2 separate regions of the Homo sapiens genome follow, and region 2 is linked to region 1. Evidence: promoter capture Hi-C in human tissues and cell types (Jung and others, 2019). All regions are on one chromosome and are shown on one strand. Each heading gives the region's core, a stretch centred on a gene start or on the middle of the fragment in contact. The rest is flanking DNA. Distances are from core to core; before and after follow the strand shown.

Evidence for each region. The method cuts DNA at HindIII sites, captures the fragments that hold promoters and counts their contacts. A contact is called where the count stands out against the background at its distance.
Region 2: a contact is called between a fragment that was not itself captured here and the fragment with the promoter of CXCL1 in region 1, in 1 of the 25 tissues and cell types used here (mesendoderm cells).

What each region holds. Positions count from the first base shown.
Region 1 is chr4:73,867,425-73,870,642 of GRCh38, reverse strand. It overlaps CXCL1 (C-X-C motif chemokine ligand 1), which reads right to left and starts at 1,250. Exons shown (of 4, transcript NM_001511.4): 1 at 1,073-1,250; 2 at 851-974; 3 at 654-737; 4 at 1-122. The coding sequence starts at 1,172. The coding sequence ends at 107. The HindIII fragment of the contact is 6,457 bases long and covers 504-3,218 here.
Region 2 is chr4:74,293,553-74,296,587 of GRCh38, reverse strand. All of the region lies in intron 7 of MTHFD2L (methylenetetrahydrofolate dehydrogenase (NADP+ dependent) 2 like), which reads right to left. The region is part of intron 2 of LOC105377276 (a long non-coding RNA gene); the gene reads left to right. Among named protein-coding and RNA genes, the nearest start is that of EPGN, 13 kb to the left of the region's middle. The HindIII fragment of the contact is 3,752 bases long and covers 1-3,035 here.

The DNA.
Region 1 (3,218 bases), core at 1-2,500:
CAATCCAGGTGGCCTCTGCAGCTGTGTCTCTCTTTCCTCTTCTGTTCCTATAAGGGCAGGGCCTCCTTCAGGAACAGCCACCAGTGAGCTTCCTCCTCCCTTCTGGTCAGTTGGATTTGTCACTGCAATGAGAAAATGGGTGCCCTGAGTAGGTGCTCGGGAAAGCTGATTGCACAACACTCTTCTCCTGCCCTGCTCCTCCAGCCTCTAGAGTTTTCCGAATGCAGTTTCCCCAGCCTGGCAACCAAGTGGCTACTGCCTATGACAGCTGTGCTGTGTGGCAGGGACCTCTAAGCTTGGGATGCTCTTTTAGGAATGGGGGTGGGGTGGGGCGGTGGTCTCCACTGTACTATTGGATTAAAAACAGCCAGAACCTGTTGCTGTTTGTCCTACTGGGCCTCAAATGAAGGCAGTTTTACCTACATTCATTGGAACGAAGGAAGAACCAGGGTGGGGACGCCAGGCATTGGGAATATCCTCTGGCACCAGAGCAGTAATTATCGTAAAGGAAACCTTAATTGTGAAAACAATAATCCCAATTTCTAGTCCTTCAACTAACCCCTGGGTTTTCCTGATTTTATTTTTAGGGGGCACATGCCAGTATTTCTGACCAACGGCTCCAGTCGCCTGTGTACATGGAAACCATAACTCACCTGTTCAGCATCTTTTCGATGATTTTCTTAACTATGGGGGATGCAGGATTGAGGCAAGCTTTCCGCCCATTCTTGAGTGTGGCTCTGCAGAGGGAAGGGAATCTCGTGAGGCAGGAGGTCGGGCTGGGGACAGGGTTGGGGCAGCAGGAGGGTCTGGGACCCCGGCGGTGGCAGAGGCAGCGCGGGGCGGGACTTACATGACTTCGGTTTGGGCGCAGTGGGGTCCGGGGGACTTCACGTTCACACTTTGGATGTTCTTGGGGTGAATTCCCTGCAGGGTCTGCAAGCACTGGCAGCGCAGTTCAGTGGCCACGGACGCTCCTAGGGAAGAAGAGACTCACTGACTGAGCGAGGCTGTCGGCGCTGGGTGCCTACCCCAGCCGCGTCCGGCCCGGGGACCCCAGGGCGCCGGTACCCACCTGCTGCGCGCCGGCCAGCGGCTACCAGGAGCAGGAGCAGCAGTGCCACTCGCAGGAGCCGGGGATTGCTGGGGGCGGCGGAGAGAGCAGCGCGGGCCATGGGGCTCAGCAGGCGGGTCTGGCGGCTGTGAGAGGAGCGGAAGAGCTGGCGAGGAGGTGCCTGCGGCCCGGGCTCTGTGGCTCTCCGAGATCCGCGAACCCCTTTTATGCATGGTTGGGGCTGGAAAGCCCGGAGCCCCCGGGCCAGGGAAATTCCCGGAGTTCCAGATCGATCCCGAGTCCGGAAGGAAGGCGACGGCCCCGCCCCCAGGGTGGAGCGCTTGGGGTGCGGGTGGGGTGTGGGGGTCCACTGATGCAGCCCGCGCCTCGCCCTTCAGAGTAACTCCTGTGGACTCTGAGACTCTGGGATATTCGCCTTCTGCCCCAGATCCCTGGAGGGGGGCTGAGTGGCAGCCTGCGCTGAAGATACCACCTGAGAGGTGGGATCTTGGGTGCCTGGTGATCCCAGTGTGTGGGGCTGGGAACGGAGAAGGAGCTGGGGCGGATCCCTGAGAACCACCACAGAGAAGGCGCGACCTCTTTGGAGGAAGAGCGTTGTGTCTCGGATTTGTGGCTGGAGATTGAGAGAAATTAACAAGGTGCTGGGAGATAGGCTGGAGCTATATTATCCTCTCTGCCTCAGCCTTTCTTATTTTCAGTTTAGCCTATTTCACGTACATCTAACATCAGTGCTGTCTGTGAAAGTACAGTCCATTATGTCAGATTCCAGAGAAGAATGTTCTGCTTGTTCCTTGTGTTGCATATTCTCTAACCACACTTAGAATATCTTGTTTACGTTTTCCATTTGGTGGCAACAGATTATCAGTGTCAAAAGCTGAATCCAGTGTTAGCGTCAGTGGAAGCCAGGGCTGTATAACATGAACTCTTCTTTCATATCCTGCTTATCTTCCTTCTTCCCTGTAAAATGTTGGAACTTTCAAAATCCCCTGGAAATCTTTTCCCTGTAGGAGGGGTTCAGGTTTGATCTAGAAATACGGCACTGGTTGTCACTCCGGACCTCGGAGGGGCTGGGTCCAGCAGGCTCATGGGCTCACCATTCCTGGTTCTGTCTTTGGACTGCATAGCACATGACACCAGGGAGTGGGTACCTGGTGTGCAAGCACCCTTCCCACTGAAGCAGCAGACATGCATTCGGATGAAATAGGAACGCCGGATCCCACATAGAGTCACATTCCATTTACTATAGGACTTCCTGGTATTCAGTATTGGGCCCCCTTTCTAGAGAAACACACACATGTTGTTTTCTCTCAGGAATTTCAGTCATTTAACCTGGTAGCTTTATTACTTTTTTCTCCAGAAGTTCTAGAGAACTTATTTTTATTCATCATTAGGTTTTTAGAGGGTTTAAGTGTGATTCTCCAAGTGGGATTCAGAGCTCTCTGAGACATGGAGTAAGATGGGAGGAGGGGGAAAAAGCAGAGGCTTCTGCCCCAGGGGCAGATGTCTCCACAACAGAGTTCTACACAGCCCAGCTCAATAGGTAAGACCTGTGTTCCTAGCCAAGCAGAGAACACAGGCAAGGCTGCCACCTGCATTTAGTAGTGAAGCATCGCCTGCAGATTGTTTAGCCTCTCCGTTTCTACCCCAAGGTGGTTATGAGAAATGAGTCAACATTTGTAAGAGCCAGCATGGATTTAAGTGCCTTATAAATGTTTGTTAAATATTTGTTTAAAAAAAAAATGGAAATAGCGTTTTCCAACATTGCCTAAACAGAAACTCATCCTGATGTGAATTTATATATATATTTATATATTTATATATATATATATATATATATATATATATATATATATAATGGAAAGGTTCACTCCCCAGTGTTTTTTACATTTAAAATTTTCTATATCAGTTACTGCTACCCAACTACCCCTAATGTATACAACACCATATACAGCAGTATGAGTCTTGAATAAATCAAGGCAGGTCCTGGAAGACAGAATGTTCATATAAACACCAAAAGCTCAGTTTCCAAAATGCCCTTTCGGTTACTCAGGGGTACTGGTGCTCTCATTACAGTAATCTTAGTCAAGGGTAGAAAGGTGTGCTAGAATGTTGTTTCTTTAAAACAGACACTGTAGATAGTATATGT
Region 2 (3,035 bases), core at 301-2,800, 430 kb before region 1:
ACGATGGCCTCAGGTTCCCAGGCAAGTACCAGGCAAACCCCAATGTGCAAACGGTTTTCACACTTCTGCTTACATAAGAGTTGCTAATGTGCCATTGACCAAAGGAAGGCACACGATCAAGTTGAAATTCAAAGACTTGGAGTAACAAGAGTGGCCAAGTCACCCTGCAAAGGGGATGTACACATGGGGACAAAATAAATGTGTGGCCATTTTTTATAATCTACTACAGTAGCCTCTTGGCTCCCAGTCCACCATGTCAGCCATATAATTTGCTGCCAGAGTTATTCTTTAAAACACAGATTTGATTATCTCAGCTTATAAACATTTGATGGATCTTCATTGTCTCTAGGATAAAATATAAATTCTTTGTTATGGCAATCAAGGTCTTTTATCTTCTGGCCCAACATCTTTATTTTGCATCATGTTCTAGCCCTATATTCAATTAGTCACTGTTCCCACACATGCCATAAACTGGACCAGATAGATTCGTAACAATTATTCCTTGAGCAAGACAGACATAGATACTGCCTCATGGAGCTTTTAGTCTAGTTGGGAAGATGGACATTAAAAAGGCAATTGCCTAAATAATAATTGAGCCACGGCAGTGATATGTGCTACACATGAAATTTGTGCTGCACTGTGAAGGTGTCAAGAGGATCTGGGCCTGAACAGCACTGTGTATTAATGTGGCATATCCATGCCGAGTTTTTCCATGTGGAATAGAGAGGTGTAGAATAGACAGTGTAGGGGAGACAATGTGATAAAGGTGGCAAGAAGCTTCCCTCAGGTAGAAAGCAGCCTGAACTCTTGGAAACACTGTAAGAAGGCCAGTATGGCTGAGATGCAGGAGTAAAGACAGAGTTGAAGGAGGTGACATGGAAGAGGTAGGCAGTGTCTGGTTATGTAGAGGCTCATAGAAAATATCAAGTATTTTGTATATTAATTTAAAAGAAATGATTAAAGTATTTTTAACATTTGGGAAAACATTTCAGGCAGCATAAAATCAAATGAAGAAACTGTTCTGTGTTTGCACATTTCTCTAATGAAGTGAGTTTAATATCTGGGGTGAAAGGAAAGGAAATAAACACAAAAATTACAAAGTAAATTGAGATTCACTAAGGTGGGAATGAATTCAGGCACTTATGGGAGTACCTCAAGAGAAAACATAAATCCGATATGGGGATCAGAGAAAGATTTGTAAAGCTGCAGAAAAGCTGCAAGATTGATGGACACCTGAGCAGGGAAGAAAGGGAAAGAGAAAGCAATGCAGACACAGGGAAGAGTAAAAGCAAAGGTGGGTTGGATCTGACAATAAATTTAATATAATGGAGGAGGTGAAATGACTTCATTATGACCAAAGCACATGATGAAAACAGCGAGAAGAAAGAGAGGAGGCCGGGGAGGTGATCATGGGCTATATGGGGTCAAGAAACTGAGGTTGGGTGATGGTAGCTGTAGTTACTGTGTTCAGGGTGAATAAGCTTTTAAAAGAGTCTTTCATGAATAAACTTGGCTATTTACATATTTAGGAGTGATCATTTTTGTAATATGAAAAACTTGTGAGAAAAATGTATACTACTAAATAATTTTAGAAGAAAGTAGTGAAGGAGAAATTCATCTTGCATTTTCATGAAGTTTCAGGCTATTGCATCCCAGTAAATCATTACTCAAGAAATTCTTTTTCAGCCTGCCATGCATGTCTAATCTTCCGTGTTCTCTCTTCTCCCCTATGTGGCTGATGACTTTCCCCCCTATGTTATTGGCTTCAGATTTCTAAAAGGAAGAACTAAAACTTGGCTTGGCATCATTTACTTGATTCTAACTTGAAGACAACCATCTTTCAATGTCAGTATAAGAACAATAGGTACAGTGCAGAGGTTCTTTCATATTTAAAATTTGAGGTGATGATAGAGATGATGGAAGAAACTAATCATCCAGTTTATATGGACGCCTCCAAAAAAATCCAAGGGTGGCATAGATGACAGGGTGCATAAATTGTACTCATGAAGGATACCAATAGCAACATAAAGGACACTAAAATGCCCTTTAAAAACTTAAGTAAGAATAAAACAGAAAGTACGTGGTCATGAATCTTCTGGCACCATCAATCCATCCTTCATGACAGGGTGTCTCCAGCTGGTGTGTTCTGTCATTGCTTCATTTGGAAACTTTATGTTCCCAGGTTCCCAGGGCCAAGAATTGAACAATTCAGATTCTTATTTAAGATACTTTGTTGGAATACTCTCTAATTCCTTGGCAAATAGTAAATTTCTACTTCAGTACATTATATATACTCCAAAGGTCCCAAATAATGGCATTTCCAGATGTATCTAAGCAGAATTAATTTTGCTAGTATATTTTGGAAATTGTATATTCTGGCAAAGTTAAAGAATATATTTGTTCTCTATAAATTTATTTTTGGAGTGGAGAAAGAAGAACTGATGTCTCACGTTCCTATAGTATTGTGTTGTCTTTCTATTTTGTCTGTTTCACTGTCTCTTTTAAAGAAGTACTCTATGGCCCATGTCAGTTCTCCACAATGCTATAATTATTTTTTAAAGTCAACTCCCTCCCCCAAAAAGAAGAAGGATGATTCCTTATCTGTGGCAAGGCAGCAGAACAAAAATTTCTTGCTTCTCTCATGTGAATTTCATCCTCCTGGTATACATATGTAATTGTCTAAATTAAATGCTTGAAGTATTTTCCCATGCTTCTAAATGCAAGCCACTTAAGCGTGGCCTCTCAAACATCCACTCTAATGAAGGGGAGACAAGCTTCAGGAAAATGAAGTACAGGAATAACAACCAGAAAAACCTGAATGACATAGGACTGTAGAAATAGTATGACTCAGGAGATAATACAGAAAACACTCCACTTTCTCATATGGTTGATAGAAAAATGACACTTAAGAGCATGGTGAACCAGGGAGCAGAGGGCTCCTTAACAAGTTAGTAGCTTGCCATTGAACTTGGAAGGCAACCAGGAATCAAGTGCTCCGGAGGGAATTTACTATATTTCTTCTTACATTCATCTGG